6 separate regions of the Homo sapiens genome follow, and all the other regions are linked to region 1. The links are contacts of gene promoters, found by promoter capture Hi-C in blood cells and fetal thymus (Javierre and others, 2016). All regions are on one chromosome and are shown on one strand. Each heading gives the region's core, a stretch centred on a gene start or on the middle of the fragment in contact. The rest is flanking DNA. Distances are from core to core; before and after follow the strand shown. Region 1 holds the start of ADRM1 (ADRM1 26S proteasome ubiquitin receptor). Region 2 has its middle 5.9 kb from the start of BHLHE23. Region 3 overlaps GID8 (GID complex subunit 8 homolog). Region 4 overlaps DIDO1 (death inducer-obliterator 1). Region 5 overlaps LOC105372717 (a long non-coding RNA gene). Region 6 overlaps COL9A3 (collagen type IX alpha 3 chain).

What was found. The method cuts DNA at HindIII sites, captures the fragments that hold promoters and counts their contacts. A CHiCAGO score of 5 or more calls a contact.
Region 2: a contact is called between a fragment that was not itself captured here and the fragment with the promoter of ADRM1 in region 1, in 1 of 17 cell types (naive B cells). The highest score is 5.9, in naive B cells.
Region 3: a fragment that was not itself captured here is called in contact with the fragment with the promoter of ADRM1 in region 1 in 1 of 17 cell types (neutrophils); the score reaches 7.9 in neutrophils.
Region 4: a fragment that was not itself captured here is called in contact with the fragment with the promoter of ADRM1 in region 1 in 1 of 17 cell types (neutrophils); the score reaches 6.8 in neutrophils.
Region 5: a contact is called between a fragment that was not itself captured here and the fragment with the promoter of ADRM1 in region 1, in 1 of 17 cell types (monocytes). The highest score is 5.5, in monocytes.
Region 6: a contact is called between a fragment that was not itself captured here and the fragment with the promoter of ADRM1 in region 1, in 1 of 17 cell types (total B cells). The highest score is 6.0, in total B cells.

The regions. Positions count from the first base shown.
Region 1 is chr20:62,301,280-62,304,534 of GRCh38, reverse strand. It overlaps ADRM1 (ADRM1 26S proteasome ubiquitin receptor), which reads right to left and starts at 1,538. Exons shown (of 10, transcript NM_007002.4): 1 at 1,486-1,538; 2 at 754-967; 3 at 1-74. The coding sequence starts at 966. RefSeq lists silencers at 1,429-1,888, 1,909-2,028. The HindIII fragment of the contact is 19,122 bases long and covers 1-3,255 here.
Region 2 is chr20:63,011,267-63,014,521 of GRCh38, reverse strand. No RefSeq gene overlaps it. Among named protein-coding and RNA genes, the nearest start is that of BHLHE23, 5.9 kb to the right of the region's middle. RefSeq lists an enhancer at 1,435-1,584. The HindIII fragment of the contact is 240 bases long and covers 1,358-1,597 here.
Region 3 is chr20:62,942,043-62,945,297 of GRCh38, reverse strand. GID8 (GID complex subunit 8 homolog) reads right to left here. Exons shown (of 5, transcript NM_017896.3): 3 at 2,115-2,311; 4 at 1,606-1,803; 5 at 1-559. The coding sequence ends at 386. Among named protein-coding and RNA genes, the nearest start is that of GID8, 5.5 kb to the right of the region's middle. The HindIII fragment of the contact is 240 bases long and covers 1,587-1,826 here.
Region 4 is chr20:62,914,239-62,917,493 of GRCh38, reverse strand. DIDO1 (death inducer-obliterator 1) reads left to right here. Exons shown (of 16, transcript NM_001193369.2): 2 at 3,088-3,255. Among named protein-coding and RNA genes, the nearest start is that of DIDO1, 11 kb to the left of the region's middle. The HindIII fragment of the contact is 3,417 bases long and covers 1-3,255 here.
Region 5 is chr20:62,870,167-62,873,421 of GRCh38, reverse strand. The region is part of intron 1 of LOC105372717 (a long non-coding RNA gene); the gene reads right to left. It also overlaps the pseudogene ARF4P2. Among named protein-coding and RNA genes, the nearest start is that of TCFL5, 10 kb to the right of the region's middle. The HindIII fragment of the contact is 6,367 bases long and covers 1-3,255 here.
Region 6 is chr20:62,834,058-62,837,312 of GRCh38, reverse strand. COL9A3 (collagen type IX alpha 3 chain) reads right to left here. Exons shown (of 32, transcript NM_001853.4): 27 at 1,360-1,392; 28 at 980-1,126; 29 at 781-835; 30 at 48-230. Among named protein-coding and RNA genes, the nearest start is that of COL9A3, 19 kb to the right of the region's middle. RefSeq lists enhancers at 325-1,524, 3,048-3,255. The HindIII fragment of the contact is 341 bases long and covers 1,244-1,584 here.

The sequences.
Region 1 (3,255 bases), core at 289-2,788:
AGCACGTAGACCCTCCCGCTGGGGCACTGCGGCACCCGCTTGAACTCACAGTCGTCAGGGAAGATGATCAAGTCCTGGCAAGCCAGGGGAAGAGAGAGTCAGTGGCGCAGATGGCATCACTGTGCCCAGTCTCAGGAGAGCGTACTGAGCCCTGGGTCTAACCGGGTGGGGTGCGCAAGGGGCAGCTAAGCCGCCAGACCCCTCGCTGGCAGGGTCTCCACAAGGCAGAGAAGCCAGGGTCAGAGACAGCCCATGAAAGGCAAGGCCGGGGGAGAGAGCAGGGAAAGGGGCCTTTCAGATGGCAACGGGGTTTCTGAGACGTGCTGGAAACAACATTCCCAGAGTAGTTAAAAAGTCAACGCTGAACTGCTCTCAAATGTAACAAAGAACAACTAAGAGTTTGAAAAACAAAGAAGACTGAGTGAAGCCGCCAGGCACAGAGCTCCAGGCTCTCCAGGGCCACACCTCCAACCCCAGGCACCTCACACGGACAGTTCAAGGCCAGGCACAGAGCTCCGGGCTCTCCAGGGCCACACCTCCAACCCAGGCACCTCACACGGACAGTTCAAGATACACAGTGGCCGAGATGCCCCTGTCACCGCGGAAACCAGGACGACCCATCAGCAGGGCAGTCGATGACGGCCCCACGAGCGGTCCCCAGATGCGGCCAAGCCCCCACCGCGAACTCCAAAGCGAGGACTCCGAGGGCCCGAGAAGTCGCCTGTCCTGCTGCTGCGGCTCAGGGACACTCACGTCTTCCACGTTCCCGGACGTCCTGTCCTTCCAGCAGAAGTGAATAAGCGAGTCGTCCGTCTGCTGAATGTACACCAGCCCTTTCCGCTTATCCGGAGTCACGGTGGTCCCCTTCAGGGACATCTTTCCCGCCCGAAACTCCACCAAGTACTTGTTGGAGGCGCCCCGAGAGCCTGGCACCAGGCTTGGAAAGAGCGCGCCTGAGGTCGTCATCCTGAAAGCGCGGAGAGGACGCTGAGACGCGGCGGTCACTGTCGCCTGCGGTCCGGCAAGCTCCCGCCCCCTGGGGTGTTTGCGAGCAGGGGGCCTGCGCCCAGAGCTGCCTAAGGCAGACTCAGACACGCCGGGCTGCCTTTCCGCGTTTGCCCCGCTCACGACGATCGCACCGCCCGCACTCGGCGCTGGGCCGGGGCAGCCCCGCCAAGCCTAGTGGGGCCGGCCCTAGGCTTGACGCCGTCTCCGCGGGGCACCAGCCTCGACGCGCCACCCCGGCGACCCGCTCCGCGGGGCAGACCCGCCCGAGCTCCCGCCGAGCCCCACGTTCAGAGCCGCAGGCGGAACCGGGGCGGCGCCCGAGACCCCAGAACCCCCGCCCGGCCCGGCCCCCGCAGGCCCCACCCGCCGCGCCGGCCACCTTCTCGTCTTGGCTGCCCCCGCCCCATCCTTGGTCCAGCAGCCCCTGCCCCCGCCTCCGGTCGCCCCCGGCCGCCCCAGGCCCGGCGACTCCCGCACCTGCCTCGCGCCCACACTCGTTCGAGAGGCGCCGTCCGGGCTCGCTCTTCCTCCTCGGCGCCTGCCGGGCCCCGCCGGAAACCCGCGTTCGGCCCGCCCCGCCTGCCGCTCTCGCCGCCGATTGAGCCCCGTAAGCCGCGCAGCCGGCTCTAACCTGCCAACGATTGGCGAGGGCGACCGTCCATCGCACTCGCTCCTCCCCGGTCCGCCCCCGCGCCGGCGGCTCTTTTCCGGCGGAAGCGCGGGCCGCAGGGCGCTTGGACCAGAGCGGCCCCTATTGTTGCTGTGTCATAGGGGAGCGGCGGCGGCCCCTAGAGGCGGCGCCAGGGACCACAGGCGGGTTTCAGAGGGGCGCTGGGGAACTGCTCAGGTGGGGCCGAGCCCACCCCTCGGCGTCGCCCGCCCGGGCGGGCAGAGCTGTCACTCGTGTGGCTGAGCCAGGGGTTAGGCGGAGGCCGAGGAGTGCGGTCCGGCTGTGGGCGGCGGGCACCAGGGCTACGCATAGAAGTGACCATGGGTTCAGCGCTTTGGGGACCCAGGCGGGAGCTGGAGTCCACGCGTCCGGGAGAGCAGGGGTCCGGGAGGGTAGAGCGAGGGTGAGAACCGTGATATGGTCTCAGCTGTATACATCTAGTCCCGCAGGGGTCCGGGAGGGCAGGGGTCAGGAAGGGGTGGGTCCGGGAGGAGAGGGGTCCCGAGAGGGGAGGGGCTCCTGGAGGGGAGGGATCTGGGAGGGGTGAGTCCGGGAGGGGAGGGGTTCCCGGAGGGGAGGGGGCCCGGGAGGGGAGAGGGTCCCGGAGGGGAGGGATCTGGGAGGGGTGAGTCCGGGAGGGAGGAGTCAGGGAAGGCCTGAGTCCCAGACGGGTAGGGTCCTGGAAGGGAGGGGTCCTGGAGGGCAGGGGCTCACCCTCTGGACGCCTGGATGGGAAAGGCCACAGGGTAAAAAGGCGGCAGTCGCCCGCCAGTGTTGTGTAACTTTGAGTCACTTTGACACAAACTAAAGCGAAGACAACAGATAGTGTTTGTGGCGCCCCAGCCGGCTGCTGAAGGGACACGTTCTTTGGGATTTGCCTACAGCGACGCCAGGCGGGGGCTCTTAGAGGGCTCAGGCGCGGTGGCTCACGCCTGTAAACCCAGAACTTTGGGAGGCCGAGGCGGGCGGATTACTTGAGGCCAGGAGTTCAAGACCAGCCTGGGCAACATGGTGAATGAAACCCCGACTCTACTAAAAATGCAAAAATTAGCCAGGTATGCTGGCACATGCCTGTAATTCCATCTACTCAGGAGGCTGATGCACGAGAATCGCCTGAACCCGGGAGGTGGAGGTTGCAGTGAGCCGAGATTGCACCACTGCACTCCAGCCTGGGCGACAGAGGAAGACTCCTTCTCAAAAAAAAAAAATAATAATAATAATAGTAATAAAATAGAGAGGTCAGGCGCTTCGTGAGAACCCTGAGGTGCAGTGGCCTCTGCACCCCAGTTAAGCAAGACTAGATGTTTGCAGCTGAGACTGTGCCAGGGTCCTCAGGTTCTCCTTTGCCCATCGCTCACTTCCTTCTTTCCTTCAGATACTTCACTCCCTTCGGGCGCTCCCCGGGGTCACCGTGTGCTTGGTGGCTCACCCTCAGAGTGGATGCACAGCTGTGTGCTTACGTGCTCTCTGAGGTCTTTAGGTGTGTGTTTTCACTCACCCTTGTTGGGAGATGCGTTGGTGTTGATGCTGGCAGCTCCAGTCCTTTCATTCTGCAGGGAGCCTACTACTCAGGCCTC
Region 2 (3,255 bases), core at 228-2,727, 710 kb before region 1:
AGGCCAAAGGACTGAATCCCAAGCCCTCCAGAATGAAAATGTCGGGGAAAAGAAGAACCGGCAAAGGGGGCTGAGGATGAGTCACCAGGAGGTCACTCTAAGTATTAGCTGAAATAGTGATGATTTTACAAGGGGGAGGAAGGTCTATTGCATGAACTCTAAACTGGTCACCGCAGAATCAATGTTGTTCAAGACTGAAAACAACCATCAGACTTCCAGTTTCTGGTTATTAGGGACTAGTTAATCTGGACCCATCACTTTTCTGATGGTGACTACAAAAGCTGAGCAAAATGTTAAAAATATTTGCTTGGAATGCAAACAAACAAAATCCCAGAAAGACAAAGATCCAGAGTGAAAAAAGCCTTCGGGACGCTCACTTTTCCCCCAAAGCATTTGCTGCTTCAGATAGCTCACAGCCCACTGAGGAGCCAGACAGCGAGAGATTCAGCCCACCTGAGAGTGGGGAGTTGGCGAACATCCCCCCGACCCCCACCATTTTGAGTTGGGACAACAAATAACCGCACCCTAGACATAGGGGTGGATAGAAGGAGACCGGCTCTTGCAGCAACTCAGGGCCTTTTGCACCACTGCCAGGGTAGGAAAACCTAAACTGTAATCATCTTGAAATGATTTCAATCCCTGAAACTAGAGTAAGATGATCCAGGACCCCTAGTGCCCCCATGTCTCGCAGATGCAAACATAAACCCTCTCTGGAGGAAAATAAAATAGACCTCAAATGATTTCTACAAAATAATTTTACAAATACAATGTTCAGTCCACAATAAAAATTCTAGACAATTGAAAAAACAAATCAGCAAGAATGAAAGCAGCAGAGACCATAGGCAGAAGATCTACCAGTCCAGACACTGGAGTCGCGAGACAGAGACTGGAACAAAACTGTGCTTACAGCATTTGCAGAAATAGAGGTGGAATTTAGAATTTCAGCAAAAAAAAAAAAAAAAACCTAGAAAAACCAAATGAAAATTCTAGCACTGAAAAATAAAATCACTTAAATTATAAACTTAGTGGCTTTAATAGCAAATTCAGCTGAAGAGAGAATTAGTGAAGTGGAAAATAGGTCAGTAGAAAATATTCAGAATGAAGTATGGATAATACAAATGGAAAATACAGGTGACAGGTTAAGATACACAAAGGATTCAGGAAGAAGGACCAATATATTTGTAACTGGATCCCAGAGAGGAGATGAGAGAACATGAGGTTGAAGCAATACTCCAGAGTTAATAGCCAGGAAATTTCTAAAAGTAATCAAAATCATCAAGTCACAAATTCAAGAACCCCACAAACCCAAAAAGGATAAATGAAATGAATCAATTTCTAGTCCACTGTGTGAGAAGCTTGGAAACAATCAATCTTTTCACAAGAACAAAACGTGAGCAAACTGAAAGTCAATAATATTTCTTATATTCAACAGATGATGAGGTCACAGGGCAAACCACTGCCCAAAAAAGTTGTAGAGACGACAGACAGATGCAGAGAATCCCAATTCTGCAGAGCAGACACCTCCCTGGGAACCACTGCCAGGTTGGGAAAACCTAAACTGTCACTGGCAGATTGCTGGAGGCTGTGTGGCCAAGCTTGACAGTTAAAAACTCCAGGGCCCAGTCTTAGGGTGGAGGCCACACTTCTGTGAGTTTTACCTGCACAAACTCTACCAGATCCCCCAGGTAAATACCAGAGAAAAATCCCCTTGTGCTTTGGACAAGGGGAGGGGAGAAGTAGCACTTTCGAAATATGCCAGAGCATTCTGTTCTTCCTCTGCCCTCAAGAGAAACTATTTTTAACGTACCAGAGTTTAATCAGAGTCTAACCAACCTGGAGGAAGGGAAGTATCAACTCCAGCTCCCTCCAGTCTTTTATGTTGGGAAGGGAAACACACAGCCCCATTCTCTATCCCTCTTGTCTCATTTAAGAAGGAAAAACAGGATGGGCATGGTGGTTCACACCTGTAATCCCAGCACTTTGGAAGGCTGAGGCGGGTGGATCATCTGAGGTCAGGAGTTCAAGACCAGCCTGACCAACATGGAGAAACCCCGTCTCTACTAAAAATACAAAATTAGCTAGGCATGGTGGTGTGCGCCTGTAATCCCAGCTACTCAAGAGGCTGAGGCAGGAGAATCACTTGAACCCAGAAGGTGGAGGTTGCAGTGAGCCAAGATCATGCCACTGCACTCCAGCCTGGGCTACAGAGAAAGACTCCGTCTCAAAAAAAAACAAAAAAAAAACAAAAAAATGTCCAACTGAAGAAAGTGTTGAGTGAGCTTGTCATGCATTCCTACACAAAGAGTACAACCGCAATATATTCTACAATAGCAAAGCAAAATAAATAAAATCATTCCAAGTAAACTAGCTAAACAGAAAGGCTTTCCAAGAACTGGGCAGCTGTTGGAACCAAGCCAATAGAGGACTGACTGACAGCTCATCAATGGCAGAGACGTGAGCTCTAAAGCTCTCATAGCCTGGGTAATGGTCTGGAACGTAAAATCCCCACAGACTTAGGCTGGCCAGTTGACTATGCCAGGGCAACCCAGAGGTGGAGGAAAGTGGCAATTCTCCACATACCCAACCGTTTATGTGATTATGTAGACAGGCTAAAGTCTGTGCCTACTCAGTAAATAAATCACTCTCTGCATGATTCCAACTTGTGCCTAAAAGTAGAATGCCAATCCAGGTATTTATGCCCCCCATCCCTCTCATTTCTTAGGAACAGGAATCAGAGGTCACTGACTGGCTCACGGGAATAAACGGGATCAGTCTCTTGTGTTCCGTTGGCCTGTGGGGCTTTATAAGAGACAGGTTTAATTTGAGATAAGTGGACCCAGCTGTTTATTCCCAGAAGTTTAACTGTAGTTGGGGTACTAAGGAGAACTTGATAGAGTCCCCTCCACTTGGGGGGAAAGTTGATCTGCTGAGGATCCTTCCTTCCAAGTTTGCAATAGGACCCAGTCTCCCAGCTGGGTTGGAACCAGATTGTCTTCCTCAGTGGGGGAAGGGAGTCTCTGATTTCCATAGTCAAGGAGTGCGTTTTGCACTTGTCCTAAGTTGATCACATAATTCTGTAGCTTGAAAGTATCTATGTCTATTAGGAGGTCTGTAGTTAAGAAAGGCCTTCTATACATTATTTCAAAAGTGCTGAGATGCAGATTTCCCTTAGGGGCCATTCGAACCCGTAATAAGGCTACAGGTAATAAAGACCTCCAGGTTTCTGATGTCTCTTGGCATAGTTTAGCAAGAGTC
Region 3 (3,255 bases), core at 457-2,956, 640 kb before region 1:
TAACAGAAAGCAGAATCATGATTCGTGCTTTTCCTGTATTTTGAGTGGGATGCAGCCTAACAGCACAGCCCTCCGTGGTAGACCGAATCCTTCAGCAGCCAGAGGCCCCCGAACACTGGAAGAGCAAACCGCAACCTTCCAGATTCTTCAGCGAGTGCCAGAGTGCAGGCTCTGCATCAGACTGCCAAAGAGACGGCAGCTTTCCTTGCAAGTTTTCCACTGCCTACAAAGGCCATTTTTCCCTATAAAAAGATGCCAGGTCAAAAAAAAGTACAAGGGAGAAAAAGAGTTCTCTACTGCAGTAAGAATCTTGCAGTCGCAGGCTGATCTGAGGCAAGTCCCACGACGCAGGGCTGGTGTTGGATCCACCACGCAAGCGCAGGCGCTACTTGGGCTCCTCAATCACACCCTTGCTGAGGTCTGTCATTTTGGGATATTTTACTTTCTTCTGGTCCAGCTCGTTCTGAGCCCAAAGTAGTAGTTTCAGTAATTTTGCCAGTTTGGGTGTTGACTCGCGATTTTCATAATCTAGCACAGCTTGGTTAACTTCACTCCACACCTAGAATATAAATACATCTGATAAAAACCACCATACACGCAGAGCACCAGCAGAGTCTATTAAAAAGAGGCAGTTTAAACAAACATTAAGCTCTTAACTGCGAGACACTCTCAGGACATGAAATACATAGTCCTTGCCTGGGGAAGCTCACAGTCTGGTTGTTAAACGTCACATGCAACCTCGATGGCAGTTAAGTGCCATGAGCAAGCCTTGAACAAAGTGCTGAGGGGACTGGGAGAGAGGTAAGACCAGCGTAGCAGGACATACCAGCACCCTCCTCACAAGCCTCAAGAAAACATCTCAAGTGGACTCTAGGACAGGCCATCCTTCCAAGACAGCGTAGGGAGGACAGAGCCCCCGGGAGAGGACCCGGGGGAAGAGGGACCTGGGTCTGGGAAGGCGAGGAGCTGTCATGTTCTGCCAGACAAAAACATAGCAGCGAGGAGAGAAAAGTTTCAGAAGACAGGATTTTAAATGAGAAATACTTGGGACATAAACAGAAAGAAGGTTCAGATAAATATAAGACACCAGCAAAGGGTGTGAATACTGTGTAACGATCACCAAGTCCGTTGTCCCTAGTTTGACAAGATAAAAGATTAAAAGCCAGAGAGAGGCTGAGCATGATGGCTCACACCTGTAATCCCAGTACTTTGGGAGACTGGATCACCTGAGGTCAGGGGTTCAAGACCAGCCTGGCCAATATGGTGAAACCCCATCTCCACTAAAAATACAAAACTTAGCTGGGCGTGGTGGCACACTCCTGTAGTCCCAGCTACTTGGGAGGCAGAGGCAGGAGAATCGCTTGAACACAGGAGGCGGGGGTTGCAGTGAGCAGAGATCTCGTCACTGCACTCCAGCCTGGGCGACAGAACAAGACTTCACCTCCAAAAAAAAAAAAAAAAGCCATGAAGGAACCACTTAGCATCCCAGGCACAGAAGCCACCTGTCTCTCAGTCCACACAGCAAAGCCACACACTTGGCGTTGTCACGAAGCCCCCTCAGAGCACATGGGGAATGGAAGAAAGCTTCCCTCTGGCAGGCCCCACCTTCTGCCTCTGCATGGTGTGGAGGAGGTCTCCGAAGGGCGACTCCTCGGGACTGTCAAAGGCCAGCAGTGCCAGGGTACGCTCCATCTCTGTGAGGCACTCTCGGCTCTCCTCGCCCTGCTCCGCCAGCTGAGTCTGTGCAAACTCCAGCGCCGCCTCTGTCTCCCGCTGGCGGATCAGCTCGATCAAATGCTGTTGCTGGAGGCAGAGACAGACAAGCTTGACCCCCACACACCCAGGCCAGGGACTTAGGGCAGGTGGTACCAGGTCCCAATCAAAAGTACATCACAGAGGGAAGACTTTTCTTGCATCTCTGAGTTATCAAATTTGCATTTTTAAAACAAAAAACCGCTTCTGAACTACATAAAAGAGCAAACTCAAACCTCTCCCCCTCACATGCATTGAAATAACATTATTAAAGCAAATTAGCCTAGTTATTTCTCAATCATTGCAAATAACTTTAACTTATCAAGTATTCACAAACCAGACTACTCTCTCCTGAAACATACCTGCAAATGGAAGTAAAGATACCGGTTTGTGTCCAAGAGCTCTGGGTGGAGGCTGTTGATCAAGGCGATGGCCTCCTGAATCTGACCTTTCAGTATCATCTCCCGGATCTTGATTCGTTCATCAAGTGTTTCCAGATCCACACTAGGTTCGATTCCAGATTCCATTCGAAACTTCTCCGCTGCTTCCTTAAAGCCCTCTGAATAGAAAAACCATCTTCACTGCTAGGAAAGTTAGCAAGGAATTAAGGCAAAGACTTTGTATCTCCAGAAACTCCAATTGCCTCAATTAATAACCTCTGATGTGAACCACACTTTCTCAGGAACTCGGTATTAATATCTTTATAATTTACAAGTTATGCTCTCAAAATACATATAGAAAATGAGAAGAGTATACTTCATTCCTTGTTATCCCATCCAAAAACTCTAACCCATTAGCCAAAGAGGTCAGAATGGCTGCTGGCCCAGTGTGTTGGTGTGGGCTCCTTTGAGAGGACAGATAATAGGTCCAGACGCCAGCAGCCGCAGCTCTGGTGCCAGGTTAGGCAAGTCACACTGGCTCAGCCTCCACAGCACAGGGGCCCTCCATGGTCAGCTATACCTGCAGTGGCCTGTTGACTCCCACCTCTTAAGAGTGTCTACAATTTTTCAAAGCCAGCATGTGTGCCCCTTCCCCTGCCCCTGACATAATTATAGGCCTAAATTTCCTCTTCACCTTCCAAAAATATTTTTTTTGAGATGGGGTCCCACTCACTCTCCCAGGCTGGAGTGCAGTGGCACAATCTTGGCTCACTGCAACCTCCGCCTTCCGGGCTTAAGTGATCCTCCCACCTCAGCCTCCCAAGTAGCTGGGACTACAGGCACAAGCCACCACATCCAGCTAATTAACATTTTTTTTTTGTAGAGACAAGGTCTCACTATGTTGCCCAGGCTGGTCTGGAATTCCTAGGCGCGAACAATCTTCCTCTGTCTCTCAAAGTGCTGGGACTATAAGCATGAGCCACCATGCTTGGCCCAAAAAAGTTTCACAGAGATTAATTTGGGAGAAGGAACTGGGGACTAACAGGAGGGAGATTTTTCATGTCATGTCTTTTAAAAACATCTATTTTCTTGCCATATACAGCACTGCCCTTCCTCCAGTTGA
Region 4 (3,255 bases), core at 311-2,810, 610 kb before region 1:
AACGAGTGATGTCTCAAAGAAAAAACGAACAGTATTTGTTGCTAAGGATAAAATTTGAGCTTTGGGGTGAAAATTGGAATTTTAGAAAACTTGTATCTGCCATTGTAAACCTGATGGCTTTCTAGTAATTAAAGTCTTCTTGGAGATTGGACCCGACATTATCGGCCAGGTGAGGTGACTCACACTTGTAATCCCAGCACTTTGGAAGGCGGAGGTGGGTAGATCACTTGATCCCAGGAGTTTGAGACCAGCTTGGGCAACATAGTAAGACCCTGTCTCTACAAAAAAAAATGCAAAAATTACCTGGGCATGGTGGCATGCACCTGTAGTCCCAGCTACTGGGGAGGGTGAGGTGGGAAGACCGCTTTGAGCCTGGCGGTGGTGTGGGTGGGGGAGGTGCTGAGGCTGCAGTGATCCTTGATTGCACCACTGCACTCCATCCTGGGCAACAGGAAAAAAAATGTTTGTTTTATGCTATCCGATGAGATGTGTGGACATTGAGAATCTGTCTGTTACTTGAACCCGTGTCATCCAGGTGAACAGCATGCACATGGGTCCAGAGTGCAAGGACGTGTTCAGAGTGAACACAGCAGTCAGTTTTCATGAAAGAAAGGGAGAAGTTCCTTGACAAAGGCTGCAAATTCTGTTTCAGCTAACTTTTATGAAACTGCTCCTTGGCGAGAGTTGGTGTAGTATCAGTGAACATCCAGTTATGTGAAGATGGTTACAATACTCCATTCTAAAGACCTATCTGTGTGAGGCAAGATTTTGATGACATGTTTTAGCTGAAACACTCTATGGGAACAGATTGAGGGCAGAAGTAGACATGAACATGGAGCTGTCTTCGGTTATGCCAGAAATTTGCAAAAATGTACAACAGGGCCACTCTTCCTGTTCATTTTTGTTTGTTTTAGAAATAACTTTCATTTAAAGATACTATTAATGTATTAATAGGTTTATTTTTAATACATACTTAGAATTTTGAAAATAGCAATACATTCCACATAAACAAAAGCTCTTTGGTGTTCTCAACTTGTAAAAGTGTCTTGAGACAAAAGGTTTGAGAGCCGCCATTCAAGCATTTGGAAGTCAGTGTGTGTCCTCTGCTTGAATCGCCGCTCATCAGCTGCTTCTAGTCAATAGAAAATGAAGCAGTTTTCAGCTGGGGAAAAAAATGTGCTTAGAAATGTGGAAATATTAAATTTGGTACATTCTGTTTTAACCTGTAGTTTGTTCACTTCCCAGCTTCAAGGATACCCACATTTTTCTTTCTGGGGAAAAGTTGTTACTGATACAATATGGTTGCAGTTTTATGAACACATTCCCCCTGTGATGGGCTGTGTAGTGTGTAGAATTACACACTAATTATACACACAAAAAGTTGTGTTAGAACAGGTTTTTTTGCTTGTGCCTTGATATACATATGTTTTTATTTTACAAGCTGACTGAAATGTTATAGTAAATTTTCTCTGTTGAAGACATTATGAAATCAGTTTTGTAAATATAAAGTGATCTGATCTTTTCCGAAGGTATATCCTTCATTGAATTCTACTTAACAGAAATAACTACATTTTTCTGATTACTCAGAACTCAAATCTAGTAGCGTGTTTATTCGCAGATTAACATAAATTGAATTTTTAAAAATCAGTTTTCGTTCCCGAGAACTTCTTAATTTCTTTGCTTTTATAAATGTTCAGTGTTGGCTGGGCATGGTGGCTCGTTCATGTACTCCCCAAAACTCTGGAGGCTGAGGCAGGAGGATTGCTTGAGGCCAGCAGTTCAAGACCAGCCTGGATAACATAGCAAAACCCTGTCTCTAAAAGAATTTTTTTCAAAAATTAGCTGGGCATAGTGGCACGCATCTGTAGTCCCAGTTGCTCATGAGGCTAAGCCAGGAGGATCACTTGAGCCCCGGAGTTTGAGACTGTAGTGAGCCATGATTGGGCCACTGCACTCCAGCCTGGGCAACAAAGCAAGATGCCAACTCTTTAAAAAGTAAAGTAAAATAAATTAAATGCTCAGTGTTGCAAAATATAAAAGTTTATTTCCAGTGTTTTCTGAGCAGTCGTTTCTGAATTCTTGAAGTAATTGTTTTGAGGATGATAGTTTTACCACATTGAAGAGATGGTGACTATGACGATGCCGTTTGGCTTATCAGAGGGAATGCCTGTCTTATTTTTATTTTTTGTAGAGACGGGGTGTCTACATGGTGACACGTTGCCTGGGCTGGTGTTGAACTCCTGGGCTCAAGCAGTCCTCCCAAGCAGCTGGGATCACAGATGCGAAACACTATGCCCAGTTGTCACTGTCCCTTTAAAAGGAGGGGAGTTGGAATGTTTGTCCCTTTGTTCTGAGGTTGCCAGGGAGACCACAGAGGGAAGGCAGTTGGTCTTGAGGCTGAGGAAGAGGTGAGAGCTGGGGCTCAGTTTGGAAGTGTCGGCTTTGGGGCAAGGACCTAGCTAGAAACTCGGCACCTGGAACCTTTGAGTGTTGTGATGTGACTGGTTGAGAGAGGATACAAGAGAATTGTTTCTTAAACACACGTGGTGAACTGTATCGTGTTGATTTTAGTACGTCACAAACATTAGTATTCTAAAATTTTTCTTGTTTTTAATTAAAATAATTCAGATACATTATTAAGAATTTTCAATTATTACATTCTTATATAATTTCGATGTTCAGCCTTTTCACTTTTTGTTCTTGTTCCTCTGTTTTGTGGTGGATTTTATTGAGTGGGGTCCATCTCGGACATAGGCTCCAAATGGAAAAGAAGCTGATGCTTGGCGACTCCTCTCTGGCCCTGGTCTGGCTGGGCCTCTGCCTGCCTCCCTGGGGCAAGCCTGGGACTCCACTCCTTCCTGCGCTGCCCCGGCCCCTTTCTCTTGGGGGTTGGTAGCATCTGCTGTCCTGGGTAGAGGTCCTTAAGGACACTGCTTGCGTGCTGGTTTTCAACCCCCAAGCTGTCTTTGTGGGTCACACAGTATCACTCAAATAATAGGTTACTTGAGAAGTTCGGTACTCCCTTTTAATTGTTGTCGATACGTAGTTTACTTAAGATATGTAAAATATTTTCTTATTTTCTTTTAGGAGCTTACTCCACGGGAACAGCCTCTAGATAATCTGAGTTGTTGAAAATACGAAGCCTGTTACTCGTGAACAGTGGCTGACAACAGTGTTGTTGTGAGCCTGGCTGTCTGCTTGGACCCAGAGGTTTCGTCTGCCAGGGTTTTTGGTTGTATTTAGGATTTCAGGGAA
Region 5 (3,255 bases), core at 442-2,941, 570 kb before region 1:
TGCTTTGCAGAAATCTCAGCCCCATGGCTACAGGAGATAAGGACTTACTTTAAGGCAGTCATAGAGGCTTTCAGGTTCCTTTTTCAGACTCCAAGCCAGGCATTTAAAGCATCGAGAGCTGGAGCTGCTGTGTCCATCACCAGCAGGTCCTCGTCCTGCTAATTCCTGTCTACAGCTTCACCAGCACATGGGCCAGTGAGATGTCCCTGCCTCCCTCTTTCTTCCTCAGTTCTTTCTCTTCCCCCTTGTTCAATTTGCCTGGAAGCATGAAAGAAGAAAGCACAGGGCCCCCCAAGCCCCTCTGCTTCTGCCCATCACAAGTGCCACGAACCCATGGTCCCCGCCATCTCCTCTCTCTTCTCCCGCCTCTTCAGCAAGAAGCAGATGCACATTTGGACGGTTCGATTGGATGCTGCCTATACATTGTGTATAAACTGAAGTTAGGGGAGGTACTCACCACAGTTCCTGCCATTGGTTTTAACATGGAAAGAGTAGAATATAAGAACACTTGTTTTGGGCCAGGCACGGTAGCTCATGCCTATAATCCCAGCACTTTGGGAGGCCGAGGCAGGCAGATCACAAGGTCAGGAGTTCAAGACCAGCCTGGCCAATATGGTGGAACCCTGTCTCTACTAAATATACAAAAATTAGCCAGGCATAGTGGTGGGCTCCTGTAATCCCAGCTACTCGGGAGGCCGAGGCAGGAGAATTGCTTGAACCCGGGAGGTGGAAGTTGTAGTGAGCTGAGATTGCGCCATTGCACTCCAGCCTGGATGACAGAGCGAGACTCTGACTCAAAAAGAGAACACTTGTTTCATGGTGTGGGATGTTCATGGTCAAGATGTAATTAGGCTTCTCTGGAAGCATTACTTCCAGAATACCCAGGGTTTTCTTTTGCTGGTAGATAGCAACGATCATGAAAGAATTCGGGAAGTGGCGGACGCGCTGCAGAAAAGGCTTCTGGCCGGTGAGTGTGGAGACGCAGCGCCACTGCTCTCTGCAAACAAACAGGGTTTGCCCAGCGCTCGGGCCATCAGTGTGACGACAGATGAGCCAGCCAGCTCTTCAGTCTCTTCCTAACAGGACATGGTATGTTCAAGCCACTTGTGCAACACGGAGCTGGTGTAGATGAGGGACTTGACTGGCTGTCAAATGAGTTTTCAAAACGTTAAATGAAACTAGACATCTAACCAAAGACATGTTTGATAAAATTGGTCTAGACTTGCTACAGCAAAATTTGTTTGTATCTTGGTTAAGAAACAGCATCTGGGACTGGCTTGGGCAGAATAATAAACTTATTTTGTTGCCAATTATTGTTTGCCAAATATAATGTTGTTATTTAGCAATGTGCTTGGTTTTAAAGAAATTCTTCTTGGGAAAAAGGTGTCCTCATTTACTTCCCATGAGCCTAAAGCCTGGACATAGTTATTGTAAAACCTTTAAATAAATCCACCTTGGAAGTTAAGATACATAAAAATAAATAAGGTGGGGCGTGGTGGCTCACGCCTGTGGGAGCACTGTCTGTGAGGAGGTGAATCCCTTGAGCTTGTTGGAGACAAGGCTGGGCAACATGGTGAACCTTGCCTCTATTTAAAAAAAAAAAAAAAAAAAGGCCGTGCACGGTGGCTCATGCCTGTAATCCCAGCATTTTGGGAGGCCGAGGCGGGGGGATCATGAGGTCAGGAGATCGAGACCATCCTGGCTCACATGGTGAAACCCCAAACCCCGTCTCTACTAAAAAAATTAGCTGGGCATGGTGGCACGTGCCTGTAATCCCAGCTACTCGGGAGGCTGAGGCAGAAGAATCGCTTGAACCCAGGAGGCGGACGTTGCAGTGAACCAACATCGTGCCACCGTACTCCAGCCTGGGTGACAGAGACTCCATCTAAAAAGAAAAAAAAAGAAAAAAAAAATTCGGCTGGGCACGGTGATTCACACCTGTAATCCCAGCACTTTGGGAGGCCGAGGCAGGCAGATCACTTGAGGTCAGGAGCTCGAGACCAGCCTGGCCAACATGGTGAAACCCTGTCTCTACCAGAAAAATACAAAAAATAGCCAGGCATCGTGGCATGTGCCTGTAATCCCAGCTGCTTGGGTGGCTGAGGTAGGAGAATCGTTTGAACCCAGGAGGCAGAGGTGGCAGTGAGCCGAGATCGCACCACTGCACTCCAGCCTGGGTGACAGAGCAAGACTCCGCCTCAAAAACAAACAAATAAATAAATAAATAAATAAATAAAATAAAGCACTGACTCACCATTTTCTTTTCCCAGATTATCCAGAGCACTTGGGCAAAAGCCTCCACCCCATTTTTACTAGAATGTTCAATGGCAGCCTTGGTTCCAGAGGCACTTGGTTGAATTTTGCCCATTGATGCTCATTTGCATGAATTATCAGCGCCTCTTTCCCGTGAGAAACGGTTACCAATGCTTTTAAATCAAAGGCAATCAAAGATCCAGCTCCAGAAAACCCAGAACCAGCTTTGATCACTCCACATCACGGAACAGAAAAATCAATTGGCCCAGGAGTCCAAGAAGCTACAGGAGGATGAGAGGAAGGGGAGCAGTTGCCGGCAGGCCTGGTGACCCTGCCCTGCTCAACCTTCCAAGAATTTGAGAGAGAAAGAAAGAAAAAAAACCCTGCTTGCTGCGGTCTGAGTTTGTATCCCTCCAAGATTCATACTGAAACCTAATCTGCACTGTGGTGGCATTAAGAAGAGGGGTCTTTAAAACAATGGCCGGGTGCGGTGGCTCACGCCTGTAATCCCAGCACTTTGGGAGGCCGAGGCGGGCGGGTCACCTGAGGTCAGGAGTTCAAGACCAGCCTGACCAACATGGTGAAACCCTGTCTCTACTGAAAATACAAAACTATTAGCCAGGCGTGGTGGCACGTGCCTGTAATCCCAGCTACTCAGGAGGCTGAGGCAGAAGAATTGCTTGAACCCGGGAGGCAGACGTTGCAGTGAACCGAGATCATGCCATTGCACCCCAGCCTGGGCAATAAATCGAGACTCCATCTCAAAAAAATAAATAAATAAAAAATAAGAAGAGGGGCCTTTAGGAGGTGACTAGGTCATGACGGGAGAGCCATCATGAATGGGATTAGTGCCCTTTTACAAGAGGCCTGGGGGAGCTGATTTTCTCTCTCTGCCACATGAGGATGTGGCAGGAAGGCAGCATCTGAGCGGAACAGGCCCTCATCAGCCATCACATATGCTGGTGCCTTGATCTGGGACTTTCCAGCTTCCAGAACTAGGAG
Region 6 (3,255 bases), core at 165-2,664, 530 kb before region 1:
AGGGATTTTTACAGCAGGGTGACCGTGTCATGGGGTCAAACACTCACCTCTGGGCCCGGGGTCTCCCAGCTCCCCAGTGGGACCGCGGTATCCAGGGGGTCCTCGAGCGCCAGGGTGACCAATGGAGCCTGGGGGTCCTGGGGGCCCAGGGGGGCCAGCTGGACCGGGCCGACCAATGGACCCGGGTGCCAAAGGCTTCCTTAGGTGCGCGGCTAACTGTGCAATTTGTTCTTTGGGAAAACAAGGGTGCAGGCGTTTACTCGAGAGAGGATCATCAGAAGTATTGTTACGTAAAGCATAAAATATCTACACGGTGCTGTCTTCCAGAAGCAAGTTTTCCTTCTGATTGATGGAAAATGGTTTAACTGCTTTGGGGTGATGAATGCTGGAGCTAGAAAGGACCCCCAACCCCTTGGAGCCTGAGAAGCCTGAGTGGGAAGGTGAAGGAAGTGCCCTTGGGGGTGTTTAGGGACCTGCCCTGCCAGCCACAGGGGCACACTCCGCTGTTCTTGTACCCATTGCATTCAGCAGGCTTTAGGGCGTCTGCTGCGTGCTGGGAATCTGGTTGAATCCGGGGCGGGAGCGTGGGCCATCCTCTAGCGCAGAGGACAGGCAGACGCCAAGGCGGACGTGGACCCCCAAGGGCTAACAGGCGGGGTGAGTGCTAGGGGCTCACTTTGGCTGGAAAGCAGTGGCACGAAGGCTTTCTGTGTAGCCCCAGGCACGGGACCCCCAGGCGGGGATGGGCCCCGCTGCAGCCGGTGCACGTGGCTGACTTACCGCTGATCATCCCCCCACACAGCTCCCTGATGCGCTGCTCGCTGGCCTCCTTCCCCTGGAATTCACCCCACACATTCGTCAGCATGGGGGCGGCAGCCTCGGTGAGGCATTCCCACCGTCACCCCGCAAAGTAACTTCCTTCCGGAAAAAACACGATCTCAACCCTGTGAAAGCTGGAAAAGCCGGAAAAGCGACGTACCGGAACTCCCGGCTTCCCCGTGATGCCAGGAACACCCGGGACGCCCTGCAGGCCCAGAGGACCGGGGGGCCCGGGGACACCCTGAACACCGCTGGTGCCGTTGGGACCCTGGGTGCCTTTGGGGCCCAGCTCCCCTCGACTGCCAGACTGCAGAGGAACAGAGGAAGGTGGGTCAGGGGCGAGCCCAGGAGCCCAGAGCCACCCCGACGTGCTCTTTCCCAGCCGGCACGGAGCCGTCTTGCCCAGCCTTGACCAGAGCAAGCTTTTTTACATCTCGGATCTGGGCAGTGCCCTGCAGGGCTGCCTGGTTGCCCAGAGGTGGGCAGGAAGCCAGCAGGCGCCCATGGATGGTGTCATCGGAACAGTCGCCGGGCACTCACCTCTCCTTTGGGTCCGACCAGGCCGCTGGGACCCTGTGAAGAGAAAAGTTGTGTGTTTGAACTAAGTGTATTGTTGGGTGGGTGGGAAGTAGCCAGTTGAGGATAAAATAAATCAAATCATCCACACACCTGCTATTAGACTACATCCAAATATTGACAGTGGTTCCTTCCGTTCTTCTATATACATTTTTTATATTTCTGTGATTGCACTGATTGATTGAAGCTTTTTAAAAACTTACTTTCCTGGGAAGAGTGACTTTGTTAGCTGCACGGTGCTGTCTCTTACACACGCTTACTTTGCTTCCATTCCTTTTTCTTACTAACACGCCTAATGCTGGGCTGAACCTCTCTGCCCTAAAACCCTGGAACCCCCTCCAGCTGGGTCCTCAGGAATGACTGGCCCCAGGTGCGTCAACACACAGTCAGCCGGGTTAATGTCTCCTCCAAAACACATGCTGCAATTGAACGGCCACTGCACTGCAATGCTATTAAGAGGTGATTAGGTTTGAGAGCTCGGCTCTCCGGAGTAAACTAACACCGTTGTCTCCGCAGTGGGTTCCTCATGAAAAGGATGGGTTGGGCCCCTTTCTCTCTCTGGCACCTCCTCTTGGCCCTTCTGCCTTCCACCATGGAATGACGCAGTGGGGAGGCCCTCGATGGATGCACCCCTCGGTCTTGGGCTTCCCAGCCTCCAGAACTAGGAGCCACATGGATCTCTTTCCCTTGTAAACTACCCAAGCTGCGGTGTTCTGTTACAGCTGCAGAATACAGACTGACACAGTCTAACCGCACAGCAGAGGGACCGACCGGGCCCAGACAGCATGCTCCGCGGAGGCCAGGAGGGTAGGGGGTCACCTCACACAGCCCGACCGTGCGAGTAGCTGAGAGCAAAGCCTTAGGTTTTCCGCCTGCAAGGGGCTCTGCCCCTCACCCCACCAGCAACAGTGGCCACGTAGGGCAGCTTCTGGGATTTCCAGGGTCCATTTGTCAGTGTTGTCTAAGAATTCACTAAATGGGCTGGGCGAGGTGGCTCACGCCTGTAATCCCAGCACTTTGGGAGGCCAAGGCGAGCGGATCACAAGGTCAGGAGTTTGAGACCAGCCCGGCCAACATGGTGAAACCCCATCTCTACTAAATACAAAAATTAGCCGGGTGTGATGGTGGGCACCTGTAGTCCCAGCTACTCGGGAGGCTGAGGCAGGAGAATCGCTTGAACGCAGGAGGCAGAGATTGCAGTGAGCTGAGATCACACCACCGCACTCCAGCCTGGGGACAGAGCAAGACTCCGTCTCAAAAAAAAATAAAAAAAGAATTCACTAAATGAAACACATACAACTGAGGTCTTTTGTCCCCAGGCATAAAAAGTTTACACTGGGCTGTGGGGGTCTGCCAGAGACTGGGGTCCCTGGGGCTAGGCTGTTTCTATTTCACCCAGACGCAAAGGAAAGACTTAATCATAGATGAAAACCCCCCTCGGGAAAGCCAGAAAGGCCGTCCTTCCCTCGGACTCACGACTGCTCCATTTGTTACCTCCAGAAGGAGAAATGTGCCTATCAAGGGACTCAAACAAGAACGTAATTTTATGCTTCACCTGAGTTTTAGGCCTGTGGAAGTGGAGTTTTCTTCAGTTAAAAACCAGCTGTGGGCCTGACACGGCGGCTCACGCCTGTAATCCCAGCACTTTGGGAGGCTGAGGCAGGTGGATCACCTGAGGTCAGGAGTTTGAGACCAGCCTGGCCGACATGGTGAAACCCCGTCTCTACTAAAAATACAACAATTAGGCCAGGGGCGGTGGCTCGTACCTGTAATCCCAGCACTTTGGGAGGCCGAGGCGGGCAGATTGCCTGAGGTCGGGAATTCGAGACCAGCCTGGCCAGCATGGTGAAACCTTGTCTC